Regions from separate parts of the Homo sapiens genome. Here regions 2 and 3 are each linked to region 1. Evidence: promoter capture Hi-C in human tissues and cell types (Jung and others, 2019). All regions are on one chromosome and are shown on one strand. The core of a region is centred on a gene start or on the middle of the fragment in contact, and the rest is flanking DNA. Distances in the headings are between cores, read along the strand shown. Region 1 holds the start of ZNF71 (zinc finger protein 71). Region 2 holds the start of ZNF134 (zinc finger protein 134). Region 3 holds the start of ZNF606 (zinc finger protein 606).

The links. Contacts are between HindIII fragments. The study calls those that stand out against the background at their distance.
Region 2: a contact is called between the fragment with the promoter of ZNF134 here and the fragment with the promoter of ZNF71 in region 1, in 1 of the 25 tissues and cell types used here (dorsolateral prefrontal cortex).
Region 3: a contact is called between the fragment with the promoter of ZNF606 here and the fragment with the promoter of ZNF71 in region 1, in 1 of the 25 tissues and cell types used here (spleen).

The regions. Positions count from the first base shown.
Region 1 is chr19:56,593,871-56,596,793 of GRCh38, forward strand. It overlaps ZNF71 (zinc finger protein 71), which reads left to right and starts at 1,432. Exons shown (of 4, transcript NM_001370215.1): 1 at 1,432-1,558. It overlaps ZNF71-SMIM17 (ZNF71-SMIM17 readthrough (NMD candidate)), which reads left to right and starts at 1,432. Exons shown (of 5, transcript NR_163263.1): 1 at 1,432-1,558. RefSeq lists a silencer at 1,394-1,783. The HindIII fragment of the contact is 26,997 bases long and covers 1-2,923 here.
Region 2 is chr19:57,612,896-57,616,101 of GRCh38, forward strand. It overlaps ZNF134 (zinc finger protein 134), which reads left to right and starts at 1,347. Exons shown (of 3, transcript NM_003435.5): 1 at 1,347-1,608. RefSeq lists an enhancer at 1,242-1,421 and a silencer at 1,552-1,601. The HindIII fragment of the contact is 8,655 bases long and covers 1-3,206 here.
Region 3 is chr19:58,001,530-58,004,633 of GRCh38, forward strand. It overlaps ZNF606 (zinc finger protein 606), which reads right to left and starts at 1,291. Exons shown (of 7, transcript NM_001348022.3): 1 at 867-1,291. ZNF606-AS1 (ZNF606 antisense RNA 1) reads left to right here and starts at 1,365. Exons shown (of 4, transcript NR_036508.1): 1 at 1,365-1,517; 2 at 1,682-1,807; 3 at 2,854-3,104. RefSeq lists an enhancer at 1,223-1,642. The HindIII fragment of the contact is 28,319 bases long and covers 1-3,104 here.

The sequences.
Region 1 (2,923 bases), core at 182-2,681:
CTTTTTTTCTTATATCTAAAGATATAGGGAATTGACATTTAAAGATCTAGTTGTTTTTTATTTGCAATTCTAGAATCCAGCCACACCTCCTTCTATAAAATAGAACTAGTGTTCTGGTGATCCAAGCAGAGGAATATGGCTTCATACACAGAAACGGGCTGAGGAAAGCAGAAACAGAGAACAAGAGTGGATGGGTCATTTCAAAGTTACTTTCCCTATCATGGTTAAAGCAAAGGGGATTTCTTTTATCATGCCTGCTAAACTGGCCTGTTTGGGACTTGGCTATTATCTCTCTCTTTCTCTCCTGAGAGGAGGTCAGGTAACAACTTAGTTGGAGTTGGTGGCCTGGAACTTCAGCATGAGTAGCTCCATTTCGATTTGATCTGTTGGGCCTAGTGCAGGAACTCAGTCCAAACCGATAGTCTCCTATACATTTTATTCTACACCTATGCTCATTTTCTTCTTTGCACATCTGTATGCTTAAAAAGTGTTCTTTAAAGATAAGCATGATTATCAGGTTTAAAGTTGCCTGGGATGGTCCCTCAGGCCAGTCCATTGGCTGGACTGCAGAAATGTCTGCAGCAGATGTGACACGCCTCTTTTATCCCCCTCATTTCTCTGCCTCCACCCATCCCTTGTCCTTTTCTGTTTTCCTTCCTCCCTCCTCCCTCTCCTTACCCATTCTTTCCTCTCTTCAGCCTGTCCTGCCCTCCCCAACTCGACTTCCTCTTTCTTTCCTCCTTTTCCCACCCTTTTCTTCTTCCTTATAGTCCTTTCCACCTTCTCATCCCCCTTTCCACCCTTTCTTCCTTCTCCTCCTTGCCGTCTCCATTCTCTTCCTTTCCTGCCTCCCTGCCCCTCCCTCCTCCCACCCGCTCCCTCTTCTTTCTGTTGGTTCCTCTCCTCTCTGACCTGTTCTTTTCCCTTAGTCTCTCCCCAGCCCTTCCTCCTTCCCCTCCATCCTTCTTCCAACCCCTCCTCCTTCTCCATCTCTTCTTCTTCCTCCCCAGCTCTCCTCCCCAAGTCCCTCTCCATCCTCTCTCTTCTCCCCGCTCCTCCCCATCCCTCCTCCCCTTCCATCCTTCTTCCCACCTCTCCTACTTCTTTTCTCCCTCCTCCCCCCTTCCCTCCTGTCCCTCCTCCTCGCCCCTCCTTTCCCTCCGTCTTTCTTTCCACCCTTCCTCCCTCCGTCTCTTCTCTCTCCTTCCCTTTCCCTGCCTCCTCCCCCTCAATCCTCCCTCTCGCCCCAGCCTCCTTGGCCGCGGAGTCCTCTGTGAGATGGAGGAGCTCAGTTGGCTCCGCTCGGCTCCACTCGGCTGGGCTCGGCTGAAAAAAGCCGGGGGGAGGTGGCGCGCGCGGGTTTCTGGGAAGCGTAGTCCGGCGCAGTCCGCGCAGGCGCACTGCCGTCGGGCGGGCCTAGCGGGCGCGGTCATTGTCCTGGCAGAGCGGCGAGCCGGTGAGTGTGGCTGCGGGGTCGCGCCCACCCTCTACCTGTGCCGGGGGCCGGAACCTGGCCCCGGGGAGGGCGCGGCCTCGGGGAGACGGCGTGCAGGCCCAGGTACGGGGAGTGCAGGGCTGGGTGCTGGTCCAGGGCGTGCGGGCGCAGGAGAGGGCGTGCAGGCCGGGACCGAGGTGCGCCTGGAGAGGCTGAGCGGCCGAGGAGAGGCTGAGGGGAAGCTGAGGGGCTAAGGAGAGGCTGACTGGAGGCTGAGGGGCTGAGGAGAGGCCGGGGCCAGGGAGGGAGAGGCGTGAGTGGGTTGGAGGTAGGAAAGTTGCATGAACACGAGGGCCATCCTGGGGGGAAGGTGGCCTGTGTGAGAGACAGGCAGTGCATATCATCCTGAGGATGAGGCTGTGTCTTTGTGGATATTGTGAATGTGTCTGTGTGTGTGTCTGTGTGGGTCTGTATGTGTGTGTGAGACAGATTGTGTCGTCCTGAGGGTATGGCTGTGTCTCTGGATATTGTGATTGTGTGTGTGTGTTTGTGTGTGTGTGTGTGTGTGTGTGTGTGTGTGTGTATGAGACAGAGAGAGAAACTGCGTGTCGTCCAGAGGCTGGGTCTGTGAATGAATGTGAATGTGTCCATGTATGTCCGTGTGGGTCATGTGTGGTAGCGTGTGTGTGTGTGTGTCCCACTTCTTCAGAGTCTTGGTCTCTCTGTGGAGCTGTGTCTCTCCAGGTCTCTGCCTATGCATGTGTGGTGATATCTCTGAGTGACTGCCTGTGTCCTTGTCTTTGGTGTTGTGGGTGTGTCAGCCTTGATCTCTGTCCATGAGTGTCTCTGTGGGAGGGTGCCCTCTGGGTGTCCACTATGTCTGCTCTTTCCATGCATGTCTCTTGGCATGAGTGTAGGGCTGTGTCTTTCCAGGGGCCAGTCCTGTCTGGATCTTTCCTATCTCTGTGTGTCCACCTGTGTCTAGAGTATTTCTTGATGTTTGCGTGTGACTCTGCAGGGGTGGGTGCGTCTGGGTGTGCCTCTTCCAAAGACTATATGCCTGGACAAGGGAGCCTAGCAGAGCCACTACCTTCTCACCCTACGCTTCTCCTAGTCTGCCTGCCCACAGTTCCCTGGCTTTTTCCTGCCCATAGAAGGCTCTGGAGGCGTAGGGGCCTGGGAGTGACAGGGGCCGGGTGGAGGAGGGGAAAAGGAAGGCTGTTTCTTCTGCCTCCCACAGGATCTTCTTAAAGTGGGATCAGACTCCCAAAGGGTCTCTGTGCCCTACTCTGTTCTGACCAAGGAGAGGTTGATTTGTTCAGGGAATGTGTATGCAGCCAGTGCTGGCCATTTATAGATGTCCCAGTAACTCTGAGGTAGAGACCATCATCATCCTTATCTTACAGATGGGGAAACTGAGTCTCAGACTAAGTGACTCACCCAAGGCTACCTCAGGCATCCAGGTTCCAGAGCCCCCACAATTAACCA
Region 2 (3,206 bases), core at 97-2,596, 1.0 Mb after region 1:
TTAACTTTGAGTAATTTGGCCGGGCGCGGGGGCTCTCCTGTAATCCCAGCACTTTGGGAGGCTGAGGCGGGCAGATCACGAGGTCAGGAGATCGAGACCATCCTGGCTAACACGGTGAAACCCCATCTCTACTAAAAATACAAAAAGTTAGCCGGGCATGGTGGCAGGCGCCTGTAATCCCAGCTACTCCGGAGGCTGAGGCAGGAGAATAGTGTGAACCTGGGAGGCGGAGCCTGCAGTGAGCTATGGTCGCACCACTGCACTCCAGCCTGGGCGACTGAGCAAGACTCCGTCTCAAAAAAAAAAAACACAAAACAACTTTTGAGTAATTTAAACAATTCACAAATGTTTTTGTCTTTCTTTCCCCATACACTCGCCCTTTTCTTTTTTAAAACCATAAATAAATCTCAATTCTCAATTCAGACACTGTCGGTGTAATTGCAGGTGAAATGAGAATCACCTCCCAGCCAAGAAATCTGATCCCAATTTTCCAAATCTTTATTTCTGGGTTCAGACACCACATTTTCAGCCCCTGTCTTGGCATATAAAAGCATTTATAATGGTTCTTCTTTTCAGATAAGAAACATCACCAAAAGGAAATAGATATATCTCAACTTTTGGGCTAGGAACTCTCATTTGGATAAAAGAATATTTCTCCTTTGGTTGGACATTAGTGACCATACAGGCAGGAAAGGTGCCTTCCTTGACCACCTTCTCTCGCCTGTCTTCCTCCTCATGGTTCTCTCAGGTATTTTTTTTCTGAGGAAACCAGAGGAAGAGCTCTATATTAGTCCACTTGCCTCAGGGAGCTCCAGCATCCCTCCATAGCCACTGTCTGGAGACCATTCTTCCACTCCATGGCCCTGCCTGGGGACAATTCTCTGTTAACTCTGACCCAACTGAGGCTCACAAAACTGACTCAAAGCTTCCCTCTACAGTACACATATTTTTTAAATGAAGGAAATTTGACTGAACTATGAGTGGACTCAGAGTGACATTGGATGTTGTGTGTCCATTTGGTGGTGTGGCTTCAGGGAACATCTGTAAGAATATATCCCAATATTTCGGGGATCCCTGCAGACCTCACTACACAAGACCTGGTTGAGGGTCCTTTAAAAGGAGCGAAGCCACGCCCTGACCTCAGAGTCTCAGGGCATAATTTCTCAGCGCCCCTCGCAGTACCATTTGGCCTTTGCCCAGCGTGCAGGGGAGTTAGCCGTCACCACGGCCAAGTGCACATGAGAACTGCATTGCCCAGAAACCTGTGCGCCGCCCGGCGGCGGCACTCTTAGGGGCGTCTCCCTGCGGACGGAAGCTCTCTGGGCGGGACTTCCGGTATCTTCCTCGCGGTGGACATCTTGTCGGCTCTTAGGTGGAACCATCGGAGCAGAAGCTCGGGGTTGCTGGGCGGTTCCGAGGTGACGGAAGCGGGAGGGTGCGGGAGAAGTCGCTGTTCGCTCTGCGGAGTGGCTCGCCAGCGAAGACCCCGCCTGCGCCCCCGGGGACGGACGACCGCGGTGCCAGGGTCCCGCGACCTGGGACCCCCTCGCGGCTCCGGGTGGTCTACGAACTGTGATGGCGGCGGCCGCGGTGATGGGCCCGGCGCAGGTGGGTGCTGCCTTTCCCAGACTTTCGCCCGCCCCAAATCCTGAAGTTCCAAATGAGGAGCGCCTGTCTGAGTCCCTGCAGCGCAGGCCCCAGTGTCCAAGGCAGCGGGGCGCTGGTGGGTGGGGGCGAGTGTGACTGGCAGAGGGGCAGCCTGAGCATAGGTTTGGAGCTGGACTGAGCCCGTAGCAGTCGGGAGCGTGTGTGAACCGTAGTCAGGCCTGCAATGTCGAGGGGAGAAGTTGCTCCTTCATTGCGAGGACGATAGGAGCCATGGCGGGTTTTGAATGGTGGAGGGAAGGGATCCGAAAAAGGATTTTTAAAGTATTCCAATGTTTGCTGAGGAGGAAACCGACTACAGTGAGGTAGAAACGATGAGGATGGAGGCAAGGAGACGTTTGAGGAGGTCCCTGCAACAAACTCCAGAAGTGTTGCGGTGGTGGCTGGGCCAGAGCAGTGGCAGGAGGGGTTGGGTGGGGAAGTCATGAGATTCTGGGTAGATTTTTAAAGATGGAACCAATGGGGTTTCCTGCCGCATCAGATGTGGTCGTGAGTGAATGTAGGGAGGAAAGGGCTATCCAGGGTTTTTTTGGCCTGTTTTCCTTCCTGAACGTGTGAAAGAATGGAAATTGGTAAGTCACAGCAGGGAGCACGTTTCAGGGGCATCAGGAATTGGGTTTTGGACTTGGTGAATCTAAGGTGTTCTGCACTGGAGGTTCATCACGGGTAGCTGAACATGCAGGTCTGGGGTTCTAGAGAGGGAGTTGTGCTAGAGACTTCAATGGGTGAGGCATAAGGTCAAAGCCTGTAGTAGATCAGATTTAGAGGGTGGAATTTCAAGGAAGTTATTTTGTGTGGTCTCTGAAGTGAGAGGTGGGTTTAGGGTGGAAGGCCAGGGATGAAGGGGTGGACACTTAAGATTCCTTCCAGAAAGGAGGGGTCCTGGCATGTGAAAGCATTCTAGATGGTGTTGTTGGAAGTCAATGCTTGGTGCTGCAAAGTGAAACCAGCACTCAGGCAAAAGTTTTCTCAGCAAGGCAATTTACTTCTGTGCAAGTGTGCTGCCTGTGTTAATCACGATCCCAAGAGCACACTGAACAAAGGAGGGAAGGGGTTTTTATCTCTAACCCATAGTCCCTACCTTCCTCTGTGTCACTCCCCCATGGGCTGGGGTCGGACCGCTTAATCTAAGCTGAGCCAATTGGGTATTTGTGAGTATTTTCCAAATAAGGAAGAGGGAAGGGGAAGGTGAGTTACAGTGGTGGGACATGTGAGTTGTGTAGGACGTGTGGTTTTGGCGGGGGCAATGGGTGCAAAGTGAGTAAGGGAACAGATGTGAATTATTGGTTAGTGCTTACAGGAAGGTTGTTTATAGTAACTAGGGGCAAGGAGGCATGGAGAACAAGAAAGGTTTGAGAACAAAGAACAAGGAAGTTAACAGGCTAAACCTTTGAAGAGGAATTTTATTATATCTTATAGTGTCAGCAAGAGGAGAGGGCTGTAGAGCATAAGTAGCCTGGCCTGCACTGGAGACCAAGGTGAGGGATGCAGTAGGTTTGCCACCCTACAGGCTCAGCATGCCTTCATGGGCGCTGCCTGTG
Region 3 (3,104 bases), core at 41-2,540, 1.4 Mb after region 1:
GAGAAATGAAAGGTAATTTGCATAAGCTGGAAAAAAGAGCATGATCCTGAATGAGAGGGTACAAATTTGTCAGCTATTCCCAAGAGACAGCCAGTCACAACACAGATGGAACTTTTGGATTAATCTGACAATTATTGTAAAATCAACTTGCAATCCTCATATATTAGTGGTTGCCTAGAGCTGGGGGAAAAATGAAATGGGGAGTGACTGCTTAAGGGGAACAAGGGTTTCTTTGTGGGGTGATGAAATGTTCTAAAATTAGATAATGGGGATGATTGCACAACTTTATTAATATACAATAAAACCGGTGAATTGCACACTTTTAAGTGCTTAAAGTGAACATTATGTTATGCAAATTTAATCCCACCTCCAAAAAAAATTCACCTCCAAGATTTACTAAGCCTAAGCTTGTGTGTGTGTGGAGGACTTAGAGATGGGCCTGGCGCCCAGACCCCTAACTCCTCAGGTTCCAGATCTTTGTACAAGTCAGCAACCTCTCGAATGGATTCCTGGGTATGTGTATAAAGCACTAGAACACACAGTGGGCCTCAGGAGCACCGGAATCAGCGCGAAAACGCAGAATGCAAACCGTACTTTGCACCATTATTTGCAACTTGACAGTGACCGCCGCCGTCACTGCATGTTTAAGGGAACCCGGAGCTGTTTCCAACCCAGGTCTGACGTCCTTCACAGTGCTTTGTGTGAACTGGCAGGGGGAGAAACGACGGCTGGGGAACGAACGGGGTTATTCGTCCCATCAATGGCCTCAGAAGCATCCTTATCACCTGCTTCCAGAGCTCCCGACCCAAATTTCCTCCTCAAGACCGACGCGGCCGCGACGCTGCAAAAGCTCGTCCCGGCCTCACCTGGCTCGCGGCCGGCGGTCCCCCTTGAAGGCGGCGCAGCAGGATCGGGGTCTGCCCGCCTGGGGCGTTTGGCTTTTGTCCCGCGCCGAGGTCCGGCCCAGGAGTGCGCTTGGGAGCTCCCGGCGCGGCCTCGGGGACAAAGGCCCGCGGAGCCGACGTGCAGCAGAGTTCACCCAGGCCCGTCCGACCAGAAAACGAAGAACGCCCGGAGGCGGGAGGCCGGAGGCAGGCTGCTGGCTGGAGAACCGACGGCAACGACGGCGCAAAGCCGGCGCGGAAAGGGCAGGCGCAGGACCCACCCTGACGCCGCCTCTCCCAGCCGGCTCTCCTGACCCCCCAAGCCCCGCAGCTACGGCGGCCCCACAGCCTGAGCAAAGGCCTCACCTCAGCCGCGGACAATGGCGGCTGCTTCCCCGGCGTCGACCGGAGCGCGCCGCGGGGTCTGCTGGGAGCTGTAGTTCCAGGCGGGCACTTCCGGCGTCGGGCAGCGGCGCCGCCATGACAGGTTCCTGGGCCGCGCCGCCTCGCCCTGCCTGGGCGGGGTTGGGACCTTTCTGGCACCTGCGTCGAAGCCGGCGGCAGGATGGACTTTGTTGTCCCGGTCCCAGACCACCCTCCTCCACCGTCGCCTCCCACTGCAAAAAGGCCTGGGTAAGTCGCGGCCCCGCGGGCCTCGGTTTGCCCATCCGCAAAATGGCGCCTCGTGGTACCGGGTTTCCCGGGAGGAGCTCGGCGAGTTCTCAGCGCTCTCGAGGGATCCTTCCATTTGGCGTTCGCAAGATTGTGAGAAAGTGACTGCTGTTATTCTCTTTAAGATAAGGAACCTAATTCGAGCTACCCTTCTCTGTGAAGCTCGACGGCTGAGAACGTCAGGGCTCGTTCCCAAGTCTCTTTCCAGAGGCCAGGCTTTATGGGAGCATGGGTTACCAGCGACGCACCCTGTGAGTTTTCCTCTATCGATATGCATGGAGCGGTTCGGGAGCGGTGGCTCATTCCTGTAGTCCCAGCACTTCGGGAAGCTGTGGCGGGAGGATCAGTTGAGTTCAGGAGTTCGACACCACCCTGGGCAACATAGCGAGACCACATCTCTACAAAAAAAATACAAAAATTAGCCCGGTGTGATGGCGCGCGCCTGTAGTCCCCGCTACTTAGGAGGTTGCGGTGGAAGGATTGCTTGAGCCTGGGAGGTCAAGGTTGCAGTGAGCTATGATCGCACCACTGCACTTCAGCCTGGGCAACAGAGCAAGACCCGGCATTAAAACAAACAAAAACGGGCCGGGCGCGGTGGCTCACAGCTGTAATCCCAGCACTTTGGGAGGCCAAGGCAGGTGGATCGCCTGAGGTCAGGAGTTCCGAGACCAGTCTGGGCAACATGATAAAACCTCGTCTCTACTAAAAATACCAAAAATTAGCCGGGCTTGGTGGAGGGCACCTGTACCCAGCTACTTGGGAGGCTGAGGCAGGAGAATCGCTTGAACCCGGGAAGCGGAGGCTACAGTAAGCCGAGATCAAGCCATTGCACTCCAGCCTGGGCAGCAGGGCAAGACTCTGTCTCAAAAAAAGGGACTGAGGGACTGTAGGTGGTGATACCAAAGAAAGCATGGCCATTTAGGAAGCTAGACTTGAGTGAGCAGTGGGCAAGAGAGATTTTGAAGATATTTCCACTAGTAATGGAGGATCATTTTAAAAAGCTGGCCTGTGGGTTGGGCTTTTGTTGTTGGGTGGTGTTGGCACTCACTGTGGGTGGGCAAAGGGGAGTAGCCCTTTCAGAGGGAGAGGAAAAGTTCAAGTAGGACAGGCTGAATTCAAGGGAGAGGAAAATTTCAAGTAGGACAGGCTGAATTCGAGGGAGAGGACCATGAGAGAGGTAAGGTGGAAGGGGCAAGGTGTTGGGACAGGCCCCAGCTGGCAGGAAGGTGAACCCAGTCAGAGTGGGCACTGAGAGGAAAGCAATCTATGGATGGTACAGCCACAATTTCCATCTCAGGATCAAGCAGAGAAAGAGAGGCTGGAGAAGGAAGAGTGACAGAAGTAAGAAGAGAGTGTCTCTCCACTTCCACTCCAGCCCCCTACAGCTCATCCTCCAGCAGGCAGCCAAGGGCACTTTTAGGATCTCACATCAGGTCCTTGCCTCACATTCTGCACTGGCTTCCCAAGTAATTAAAGTAAAATCCAAATTCCAGCTCACAGCTTAGAAAACTCAGCAGGACTGGCCTCTGTCCTATCCCACACCCCACC